Regions from separate parts of the Homo sapiens genome. Here all the other regions are linked to region 1. Evidence: promoter capture Hi-C in 16 types of primary human blood cells and fetal thymus (Javierre and others, 2016). All regions are on one chromosome and are shown on one strand. The core of a region is centred on a gene start or on the middle of the fragment in contact, and the rest is flanking DNA. Distances in the headings are between cores, read along the strand shown.

Region 1 (4,033 bases), core at 439-2,938:
CGTAGAGTTGGTGGCCACTGGAGAATTGGTTGTCGGTGGGAAGAAATTCCCATACATTTTGGTGACAAGAGGTGAAGGGCTGTACTGAGTGTGTGAGAGTAAAGAGAAAAAAGTTTTTTGTTTTTTTTTTCCTCTCAGAACAACCAAAGCCAGATTAAAAGATGAAATGGCTGAACAATTGCCAGCCCATATAGAGAGCTAAATCCTCACTGGGATCACACAGAAGAGCAATGATGTCAATTAACTGTGTTTCCACAGGTTATCTGTTATACAGCTGGAGAAATGCAAGTTAGTCTGGTCCTTCTCCACTACAGTAGACAGAGTGGCTTAGAAATTAAAACACTGCTCCTCGGCAGAGGTATGTACCTACATGCGCGTACTTCTGCAATTCACACATGCAAATTGTGCAATGATTCCTTTATTTATCAAAAATTTACTTCCTTAAATATGCCTCCAAAAAGGTATCTGGTTCTAAAGATCGCACAAAAGAACGGGAGTAGAAGAAAAGTAAGTGTGATTGGTGAAAAAACAGAAATGAAAGACAATTCCAGTTGAGTTAAATGTCCCACATTTAGGGCATGTAAAACTACATGCCAGTATATAATTTTTATTAAGTACACACTAAGCAATGGATAATGAAAATAATGGCGTGTTTTGAGGAAACCTGGGCTATTGATCTTACAGGCGGTGATAGAAAATACCATACTTGTGCTGGTATTTTCAAATGGTGGATGTGCTCACTGATTTATAAGTTTAAAGCTATAAAACTAAAGCTGTAACAAACAAGATGCAACTGTTGCTATAAAACTTCCAAGTCCTTAACCCTTCTTCCTCCCACTGAAATAAGTGTTTGTAGAGCATGATTTTTGAGGTTTCTGTGGAGCACAAATGTCAGTTCCTGCAGAACAGACTTTAACAGGCTTGGATACAATTGCATGGGTTGCAGTGAACTTTAACACCAATGATGTCAGGATATTGTGTTCTGATACATATGCAAAGTTTATTAATAAGCACAGCATCGGTATTTTTAAATCGATATTTTAAAGTACCACTGTTTTATTTGTCCTGCTCATCAAATCTTAGCATATTAACTCTTAGAGCTATCCTTATAACCAAGACCTATATTCACAGTAGATTTTTTGTATTCCTCCCTCATTCCCCCAACCCAGCCCCCACCCTACTCCCTACATTTTTGGACCCCATAGGAGGAAAGAGGGAGAGAACTGTCAGAAGGAAGAAGGCAGTTGGTGTGAACCTATGAAAATCAGCGTTTTCCAAAGTGTTCAAGAACTTTACTTCGATCCCAAATCAGTTCTCTGGAGGAGGTAAGAGTTTACTTGGCATGGCCCGATGCAAACCCTACCCTACGCGTGGATTTTGTTTCTCCCCAGAGCCTCTTCAGAATCTTGGTTAATTCCAGAGCTGCTAAGGGACTCCAGGGTCGCGGAGGGAGGGCCCTGCGCCCCTCAGCGCTGCTTAGGGTCTTCCTGGGCGACTGCACTGGGAAACTAAGCCGGCCCAGGCGATGTGCCCCGGGCGGCCCCAAGAAAAAGACTAGCGGCTCAGAAGCCACGGGCTTTACCTCTAGGAAGTGGCTATGAGGCCCGGTACAGTGGCGGCTGTCTCCTCTTGGAACCGCGCAGTGAAAATCGAGTGCGCCAACTCGGGCCGCAGCTCCGGAGAGGGGTGGGGCAGGGACAGGGTCATCTCCATAGGGATCCAACAACACGGAGCCACCACCCCGCCCCACAGGCCCGCAGCCCCTCCCGCCGCCGCGCCCGGACGGCCAACCTGCATCTCCCCAGCTGCAGTGAGCAAAGCCGCCCGCGCCGTGCGAGCCACCGCCCTTCTCTTGAGGCCAGCTAGGCTCGGGTCCCGGCTCCTTTCCCTGCCTCCAGGGAGCTTGCGGTGGGAGAAAGCTTCCGTGGGGTCCCGTGGGTCGCGGCACGTCTCGGAAGCCCTGCGAGGTGCCCAGCAGAGGTGCCAGACCCAAGGCCGTGGGACCCCAAGAAGAGACTTGGACACTGAAGCCAACGTTTGCTTGATCTCAAACAAAGCCAGCGATGTTAATTAAGGCTGTGTGATGAGGAAAGTGGAGTTTCTTATTTTTTGTCACATTCATCTTCAGCAGATCCTCAGAAAATGTTAATATTTACTGCAGAATTACCAATTTCAGCATTATACAGGAGGTACAAAAACAAAACCAAAAAACCCTTCTTCATTAGTTTCAGGTCAAAATGTCTTTTAACTATTTATTGTGAAGCCTGTTTTTTTCTTTTGTATGTAATAGTTATGGCCATGAAAAGATGCTCACAGTACATTACTTACAAAAAGCAGCTTAGAAAACCAGCAGAATGGTACGATCTATTTTTTTTGCAACGTGTGTAAGAAATCTGGGAGTATGTACACAAATAGGTTAAATGGTTTGCTCTGGTAGTTTTAAAAATCATCTGTAATTCAATTTTTCCTACAACGAATAAGCAACATCTATGTAATAAACCATAAGTTTCATTCTAGTAAAGTTTCATATGAGAAATGTGATCTTGCTATGCTGCCTAGGCTGGAGTGCAGTGGCTATTCACAGGCCTGGTCATTGTGCACTATATTTTTATTTTTATTTCAAATATCTTTTTCTTTTTCATCTGTATGCCAGTAAAATCATCATTGTACACTATAGCCTAGAACTCCTGGGCTCAAGCAATCCTCCCGCCTCAGCCTCCAGAGTAGCTAAAAGTACTGGTGCCTGTCACCAAACCAGGCCTTAAATTTTATTCTAATCCAGGCACTGCATTTTTTCCTGTTTCCTTGAACATGTGTTTAAGGAGTGTGAAAGGATACAAATTAGATAAGCTAATATTTCGCTACCTGGGACCCATTTAGGGCCCTGTGACACAAAGGGCGAATGAACCAAGTGAATAAACAAGGTCAATCCACTGCTCTGTCACAACCCGCAGGAACCAGCTTTTTGCTTTACTCTATCTCAGGACCAATCCAAGAAAAACATGTCACATGACAAAGTGTCCTTTCGCCCTGTCAGACCCTAGAGTACGACTTTTTCCCCCTTAAATCCCTATTCTCACAACCCAAATGAAGTTTCCTCCATGATGCTGTAATTTTTAAAAGGGGTATTAAAAAGACCAATTTACTGATCAAAATACTTTGAATTCAGAAAGCCAAAAATTATTAAAATCAAGATTTGAAAAATATTCAGTAAGTCCCTCTCCTCCCCTCCCCCAATTAGGTGCTTATTTCTGTGGCCTGGAAACAAGGAGACAGAAGCATGAGCATCTTCTGCAACACAAAGGTAACTGAGTTATAAATAAGCAAAATGTGTTCTATCCATACCATGGCATATGATCAGCCAAAACAAGAAATGAAGTACATGCAATAACATGGATGAAGCTTCAATCCTTGAAAACATCATGCTAAGTAAACGAAACCAGTCACAAAAGGCCACGTATTGTATGATTCCATTTATATAAAATGTCTAGAATAGAAAATCCAGAGAGCTGGAAAGGAGGTTAGTGGCTGCCAAAGGCTGAGGGGATTAGGGGACAAGGAGTGACTGTTAATGGGATTCTTTTTAGTGTGATGAAAATGTTCTAGAATTAGATCACGGTGATGGGTATATAACTCTATGAATCTACTAACAATCACTGAATTGTACACTTTAAAGGGGTACATTTTATGACATAAATTATTGTTTCAATAAAGCTGTTTTTAAAGGGTGATGAAATTAATGTTTACTGAGCATTACTGGTATCAGCTATTGTGCTAGGCATCTCTCTTTTTTTTTTTTTTTTTGAGACAGAGTCTTGCTCTGTCGCCTAGGCTAGAGTGCAGTGGCACAATTTCGGCTCACTGCAACCTCTCTGCCTCCTGAGTTCAAGCAATTCCTGTGTCTCAGCCTCCCTGATAGTTGGGATTACAGGAGCCCGCCACCACGTCCGGCTAATTTGTGTGTATGTGTTTTTAGTGGAGATGGGGTTTCACCATGTTGGCCGGTCTGGGTATTGAACCCCTGACCTCAAGT
Region 2 (4,479 bases), core at 1,478-3,977, 280 kb before region 1:
AGGGAGGTGGCTCCTGCCTGTAATCCTAGCACTTTGGGAGGCAGAGGAGGGCAGATTGCCTGAGCTCAGGAGTTCGATACCAGCCTGAGCAACACTGTGAAACCCCATCTCTACTAAAATACAAAAGAAGTTGGGAGGCCGAGGCGGGCGGATCACGAGGTCAGGAGATCGAGACCATCCTGGCCAACATGGTGAAACCCCGTCTCTACTAAAAAAAAAATACAAAAAATTAGCTAGGTGTGGTGGCAGGCACCTGTAGTCCCAGCTACTAGGGAGGCTGAGGCAGGAGAATGGCATGAACCTGGGAGGCGGAGCTTGCAGGGAGCCAAGGTCATGACACTGCACTCCAGCCTGGGTGACAGAGCAAGACTCTGTCTCAAAAAAAAAAAAAAAAAGAAGTTAGCTAGGCGTGGTGGCGTGCACCTGTAGTCCCAGCCACTCAGAAGGCTGAGGCAGGAGAGTGGCTTGAACTGGGGAGGCAGAGGTTGCAGTGAGCTGAGATCGCACCACTGCACTCCAGCCTGGGCGACAGAGCAAGACTCTGTCACAAAAAAAAAAAAAAAAAAAAAAGATTTTGTAAAATTATGTACTGCTTGACACATTTTATTCCTGATTCCAGAAGTACAGAATCAGGCATTAGATTCTCATAGGAGTGCTACCCCTATTGTGAACTGTGCATGCGAGGGATGTAGGTTGCAAGTTCCTTATGAGAATCTAATGCCTGATGATCTGTCACTGTCTCCCATCACCCCAGATGGAACTGTCTAGTTGCAGGAAAACAAGCTGAGGGCTCCCACTGATTCTACATTATGGTGAGTTGTATAATTATTTCATTATATATTACAATGTAATAATAATAGAAATAAAGTGCACAATAAATGTAATGCACTTAAATCATCCAGAAACTATCCCCTCCCCCCATTCACAGAAAAATTGTCTTCCACCAAACTGGTCCCTGGTGTCAAAAAGGTTGAGGACTGCTGCCCTAGAAGTGTGATACTCATAAGTGTATGGTTTTAAAAGATCTGAACAAGAAGTTGCTTTTAGCAGTCAAAAATTTCACTTTGTCCCCTGCTAATTCTATTCTACCTACTCCACATAAATTTATCCAAATGTAGTATCATTCTATGCTTAAAAATCTTTTATAGATCACCACATCATATGATCTGCACAATTGTGTATATACATTGAACACTTTTTACTTTATGTGCTCATAATGCTCTAATTAACATTTTCTGCCATTACAATTGCTAATACACAGTTGATCAAAACAGATCAACATGCTGACACTTTTGATAGAAAATTATTAAACATAAAAGAAAATTTTTGTTGGGAGTGCATCTCTTTATGAGATGAATGTGCTTTGTTTTTAAAATTAGTTCATATGTCTATCCATGAATAGTATTTATTAATAATATGAAAATGATTTGACATCATTTTTGTTTTCATTTTATAAATGTAAGGGCTAAGAAATCTTGCTTATGTGAATAAATGGGGACAGAAAAGGTTTGCTGAAACAAAAATCAGTCAATCCTTTCAACTCGTTCTAAATTTTATGTCAAAAATCACCTAGCGATCTATCATAACATTATTTTTCATGTTCTAGCAAATGACAGCTTGATTAAGCTTGTCTTCAATTTTGTTAGATGAAAAGAGTTGGAAACCACCTGGCTTGCAAAGAGGTTTTTATCCAGGTATCAGGGTTTTCTCCAAGAAAGGCTTGCCAAGACTTATCAAATGGTTATTAAATATATATGTTATTTTTGGCTCAAAGGCATTTTCTAAAGTAAGAGATATTCAAAGGGGTTGGGAAAATAAAATTTCTTTCTTTTAATGTACCTTAGCCAATTCAGAATTTTTAATAAAATTATTTTTATCTTCTCACATGTTTTCAATATATTTTATGTCAAAACTTTGATGACCTAAGACAACAGATTTAGCTCACTGAATCTGTGGAAAATGTTTGCCATCCAACCTGATTGGCAAAGGCAACGTTAGGCTTACATTCTTCAGAAGGACTTCAGTTTCCATTCAAATAAATATGTTGATATGGATTTTAAGGAACATTGCAAAAACCATTAAATTTAAATTTAATAAATTAAATTTATTAAATTATGAAGAACATTTCATAAAGTAGATTGCTAAAAGTCATAAAGTCATTATGTAGAGGTAATAGGATTTTTTCATTTTTATAATAAATTATAAAACAAGAAAATAATGTGATTTCTTACAACAAATCTATAGTTAAGTGATGTAATATAAAATTCTGGCTTGGTAGAGGTCCCTAAAGTGGGAGAAGGAGTTCTGTGGAAGTGGGTGACAATGAAGACCCTTCCTAAATATGGCAGCCGGTTCTCAGGCAGATCAGTTTCAAGTAAGAGTATGTATGGAATTTGAGAACCTAGAAATTGATTCCCTTAGAACTGTGTGTGCTCACATGACCCTTGGAAAGTCTTCAGGTACTCCAGGAATATTCTAGTTTGAAGGCCACTGCTATTAAGAACCAAATAACCAACCTGCTTTGATACCTAAAAATAATCAAACACATAATCAATAACAATTATTATTGAGAAGGGCCAACTGTCATCTATAGGTCAAGAACCCCCCCAGATTATCATTAGTCGTGCTTATTCAACTGAATATCTCAGCTGGATAACTCATAGTAACCTCAAACACAACACATCCATAACTGAATTTATTGTCTTTCCACTGAGGCCTGCTACTCATCCTATATTTCCTGTCTCAGAGCATGAAACTAGCATCTCCACAATGATCTGTGGGAAATGCTGTTGTTGGCCACTCAGTATCCATTCTTCACTAACAGAATCACTTTTAGTTCAGAGAAGCAATCTATTCCGCTTAAAAACTTTCTTGGAAATATATGCAATTTTTTATTTTAAAAAATAATAAGGTAAACAAAGACACATATAAAAAATAAAATAATTCAACAACCAAAAAATAAAGAACCTCCCTTGCAACTAGGGGTAGCTATACAAACTGCTCAGGCTACTGCATATCATAATGACATGGGTGGGACATCCAGGAAGGCTCTATTTTTTTTTTTTTTTTTGAGATGGAGTCTCACTCTGTTGCCCAGGCTGAAGTGTAGTGGTGTGATCTCAGCTCACTGAAACCTCCGCCTCCTGGGTTCAAGCAACTTTTCTGCCTCAGCCTCCCAAGTAGCTGGAATCACAGGCATGCACCACCATCCCCAGCTAATTTTTGTATTTTTAGTAGAGATGGGGGGTTTCACCATGTTGGCCAGGCTGGTCCCGAACTCCTGACCTCAGATGACCCACCCACCTCAGTCTCCCAAAATGCTGGGATTACAGGCATGAGCCACCGTGCCTGGCCCAGGAAGGCTCTTTTTAAAAGGGCTGTCTCTGCCTTTTGCCCTGCAACCCTTCCCTTCATCCAGCTTGGACCAATGTGATGCTGAAAGTAGCACATGCTTCTTACATTAACAAGATGACAAGCACGAGGACGAAAAGCCATTCTAAAGAAGGTTGCGCAGAAAGCTAGGAGAGGCATCACAAATCTGCAGAATAGCAGTAGATTGTGTTGCCAACTGTGATAGTCAAGCACAATCCTGACATCATAACCAACCGAGAAACCTGGACCATTCCCCATGGCTCCTTCTCTCTCACTCCCCACATCCACCTAGTAGCCAAACCTTGATTCTTTTATATCCCTAACATCCCTACTGTCATTCCCGCTTTCTCTAACCCTGTAGCTAACTGCCTCAGTTTGAGACCTTGCTTTTTGGTTTTCCCGTTTTTCTGATGGCAAGGTTTTCTTATTAGAGTCTCAGCTTGTGCCAAAGCTTTAAACGGCTTTTGTTGCCTGTGTCATGAAGCACCAACTTCTTCAAGAGAAACACTAGATCTTAGCATATGCTCTGACTCTTCCTTGGCTTGCTAGACTGATTTTTGACCATATTTCTCCCATCCTTCACTTCAGACAAACTGAGCTACACTAAGTTGTCCTTTGTCTTTGGACCCTTTCTCTCTCTCCTCTGTGCCCTGAAATAACCTTAATCCCTCACTTCATCATGGCAAACATCTACTCTTCTCTTTTTTTTAGAGACAAGGTCTCACTCTGTTGCCCAGGCTATAGTGAAGTGGCATGATCAGAGCTCACTGCAGCCTTGACCTGCCAGGCTCAAGTGATCCTTCCACCTCAGCCTCCCAAGTAGCTGGGATTGCAGGCACCTGCAACCATGCTCCAATAATTTTTTTTAAAAAATTTCTGTAGAGACATGGTCTCCCTATTTTGCCCAGGCTGGTCTCAAACAGTCCTCCCACCTTGGCCTCCCAAAGTATTGGGATTACAGGTGTGTGCCACTCAAGTTATATCACTCTTGAAGCCTTTCCCAGACTCACTCCCTCCTTGTTGAAAAACATAAAGATAATTATGGGATTAGTAAAATGATTTAATTATCGCATTCTTTCTGAGACATGGGAATTTAAAATGCCACAA
Region 3 (3,967 bases), core at 107-2,606, 310 kb before region 1:
TGCCTCAGCCTCCTGAGTAGCTGGTGTTACAGGCATGTGCCACCACACCCAGCTAATTTTTGTATTTTTAGTAGAAATGGGTTTTCACCATGTTGGCCAGGCTGGTCTTGAACTCCTGACCTCAGGTGATCCACCCACCTCAGCCTCCCAAAGTGGTAGGATTACAGGTGTGAGCCACTGCACCTGGCTGAAAAGCATGTATATTTTCTAAATATGTGCAGAATTCCATTTATATCAATTCGATCAAGTTTTTAAATTGTGTGGTATCAACCTTCTATAACTTTACTTATTTCTTTTAGACTGCTTCATTTATTACTGAGGGAATTATATGAATTTATCCATTTCTTCTTGTAATTCTGTTAGATTTTGGATATTTAATTCAAGGCTGTATTGTACAAGGTATAGATTCAGAGTTGGTACAGCTTCCCAATGAATTGTTCATTTTATTATTATGTAATGATCCTCTTTGTAACTAATAACACTCTTTTTTTCTTTAGAGTCTATTTTGTGTGGAATTACTATAGTTATACCAGTTTTCTTTCGATTGAGATTTTTCTGGTATGAATTATTTATTTATTTATTTACAATGTCCCCATGCTATCCTGTGTTAGGTGTTATAAACGTGTAACAGCATTTTTTTTTTTTTTTTGAGACGCTCTGTCACCCAGGCTATAGTGCAGTGGTGTGATCTCGGCTCACTGCAACCTCCGCCTCCTGGGTTAAATGATTCTCATGCCTCAACCTCCTGAGTAGCTGGGATTACAGGTGCCCACCACCACTCCCGGTTAATTTTTGTATTTTTAGTAGAGACAGAATTTCACCATGTTGTCCAGGCTGGTCTCAAACTCCTGACCTCAAGTGATCCACCTGCCTCAGCTTCCCAAAGTGCAGGGATTACAGGCGTGAACCACTGCTCCATTTAACTGGATTTTTAAAATTCAATCTGACAATCTCTGTTTTTTAAATACTGTGTTAATTCATTTATATTAATACATTATATATTTAGATTTAATTTTAGTATCTCATTTTGTGCTTTTATTATGCCGTTTACATTTCTTCTTCTTCCTCCTTTTTCTCTTTCTTCTTTCCTGACTTCTTTTTGGTGAATTTGGTTTTCTACATTTCCTTTTATTTTTCAACAGGTTTGGAAGTCTTACTTTTTAGTATTCCAATTAGTTTCATTTTGTTCTTAGATTTTTAACAAGCTACAGTAGGTTCTGGCCAAGCTTGTCTTACCTAACCACTCTTCAGCTTTGCAACCCAGGAGATAACTAGTTGCATACAACCACAGCCTAGATGTTATGTATAACTTGTGTACCCAGAAACAGAGGTTCAATGATACAGCTACCTAAAGACCGCTTTTGCAAACATAAAAGGTAATTATGTTGGAGTTTTAGAAACTGGTATACAAAAGGCATGATAAACAATGCCTTACCTTAAACAGGTGGAAAACTACTGCCCACTCAGGCATGTCTGTGAAGCTTTGGGGGGACTTGAAAACCATGCTCACTGCACGTCTGCCTGCCTGATGTTTTCCATTATGCTTAGAGCTTATCACAGTAAGATGCGACAGTACACGATTTATTAGTCAAAGTGCTCATTTTCATTAAGACCTGGAATCAGCCCTCGGTGGAACTACTTTGCCCAGACACTTAACAAAATCTAAATTCATTAGTACCTTGGACCTGATACTTGGCAATAGGAGAACCTGAACTACCTATATTCACAAACACCCTCTCATCTCTCAAGTAACTCATTTTCCATGTAACTATTTGTTGTTAACTCCCCCAAATAATCATCAATATTTGTTTTTTACTTATTTTTTAATAATTTATTTCATTGTTCACTTTATATTTCAAATTCCTGGGGGTATGAATCTTTGTTGTATCTGCTGTCACCCATGGTTAATGATATGTTTGTAACTTTCTGTGTATGCCAATAAACTTGTTTTATTCTGTGGGAATCCTATTAGCCTGGGTTGTAGGATAGTGCCTCCAAGGAAGTTTTGTATTTTTCTCTGCTCTAACTTGAAATAAATTTTTATTTAATTGCTAGATAGGAGGTTTACATACCACACACATAGTAAGCAAAGAAATACAGACATTACTAGACATAAGATTTTAATGTGTGATAAAGACTTACAAATTAGATGTTGAAGAAAAAAATTATTTTTTAAAGTAGTGCTGCTAACACAAAGAATATAGTTATGTATGAAAATTAAAACAAAACTAGGAGGTCAGGGGAATCCCAGGACGAAAGGCAGAATGTGACAAAACAATCTAACTCTATTACAAATGCATGAAACAGCCTTACAAATGTTTCAGGCGCTGACCTCAAACTTTGGAAATGAGCAAAGTCTGAGAAACTAAAGGCAAAAGAAACTACACAGGCACTATACTTCTAGCTGAGAAAGTTGTTTCCCACAGAGTTTAACAATTCTGCTACTATTCTACATGTATACTCTGGTTGAACAATGAAGTAAACACATGGCAGGTGGTAGGAGCCAGGTTTCTCACTGTTGAAGTTGGAGGTTACAGATAAGCAAGGGGAGAGTCTAGAGCAATCTTAGTATTAAGGAATAAAGTTGGAGGCATCAATATGAATTCATGTTTAGCTTAATATAGATACAGATGGTTACATATAGAAATTTGTATGTGTGTGTGCGTGTGTATATATATACATGTTAGTATACACACATAGATTTCCTTGCACTGTCTGCTAAGAGGGCCTAGAAACAACAACACTGGAGTAACAAGCACACTTAGCACCCGCATTCCAATAAAAGTAACCAGAGCATCTTGGTGAAATGGCTGATTCTAAGATTGAAACAGAAAATATACAAGGTGGGCCTGGAACATCTCATAGTGCCAGAAAGTAAGGAAGTGCTAAATCATGCAAACCCCCTGCCCCCAGACACACACGAACAATGAGGGTAGTCAAAAGGACCCAGGAGTCAAAGGAAAGAGCTTTCAATGGCCAAGCTGGAACAATTTGTGCAACGACAACAACTAAAAGAAATAACATTGGACTATCACTCAAAATATAAAATAAATATTTATGAGTCTATACTGATGCATGAGTTTTTTTCACCCCTTCACTGGACATGCGGCAGGGGCACCACGTCTACTTGGCCCACTGTGCTCAGCCCCATGTGGAGGGAGCTTGTGAGTGGGCGAGTGCGGGATCCAGATGGCTGCTCTGGGTGCCAACACAGAAGCAAGCTCCATGTGGGGCCTGCAGTCAGACCAGGTGTGTTGCCTCAAAGGGAACGTGGTGGCACCCAGGTGAGGGTGCCTATGACCCTGAAGGCCCAGAGCAGGTGTCACAGTGCTGTTTAATTCCATCATCTGCAGTCTGATGGACGGCAGTGTGTTAGCAGCTCAGCTGGCCCCTTGCCTCATTGTGTGGGGTGACTGCCCTCTGCCAGAGAGGGCAAAGGGCCAGTGTGACAACCTTTTCAGGGTACCCGCACTCAGTGGGTCCCAAGCTCTTGTCCAGCATCCAAGAAGAATGAGGTCACGTGGACGGCTGAAGGATGGTGAAGACAGAGAATTTTACTGAGTGATGAAAACAGCTCTCAGTGGACAGGGGAGCTGAAGAGGGGCCAGGAAGGGCAGGTCATCTTCACCAAAGTCAGGCTGTCTCCTCCTCTACTGACTGAGTCTGGGGTCTTCATAGGCACAGGATGAGGAGTGCATGCTGATTGGCTTGTGAGTATGCAAAAAAGGTTAAGGTGAAGATACCACTCAAAAGTGGGCATGACAGTATAGAAAACAAGTTAGAAAAGGATAGATATATGTAAAATAGGTGATGGGGATTAATCAGAGGAAAGCACGCCAAACAGGAGGACAAGTTCTCAATCCAGTCTGGGGATTTAACTTGTAGTTTGGCTTTCAGGCTTTAAACTCTCTTCTGCTTGGAGGTGGGATTTCACTGAGAACTCGCCACTGTCTGCCTAGGCATTTCG

What was found. Contacts are between HindIII fragments. The CHiCAGO score rates a contact against its expected background, and 5 or more counts as called.
Region 2: a fragment that was not itself captured here is called in contact with the fragment with the promoter of ECT2L in region 1 in 1 of 17 cell types (endothelial precursors); the score reaches 5.4 in endothelial precursors.
Region 3: a fragment that was not itself captured here is called in contact with the fragment with the promoter of ECT2L in region 1 in 1 of 17 cell types (endothelial precursors); the score reaches 5.4 in endothelial precursors.

What each region holds. Positions count from the first base shown.
Region 1 is chr6:138,793,742-138,797,774 of GRCh38, reverse strand. It overlaps ECT2L (epithelial cell transforming 2 like), which reads right to left and starts at 1,688. Exons shown (of 22, transcript NM_001077706.3): 1 at 1,583-1,688. The HindIII fragment of the contact is 4,734 bases long and covers 1-1,921 here.
Region 2 is chr6:139,070,444-139,074,922 of GRCh38, reverse strand. No RefSeq gene overlaps it. Among named protein-coding and RNA genes, the nearest start is that of ABRACL, 44 kb to the right of the region's middle. The HindIII fragment of the contact is 2,197 bases long and covers 1,629-3,825 here.
Region 3 is chr6:139,098,618-139,102,584 of GRCh38, reverse strand. No RefSeq gene overlaps it. Among named protein-coding and RNA genes, the nearest start is that of HECA, 34 kb to the left of the region's middle. The HindIII fragment of the contact is 255 bases long and covers 1,229-1,483 here.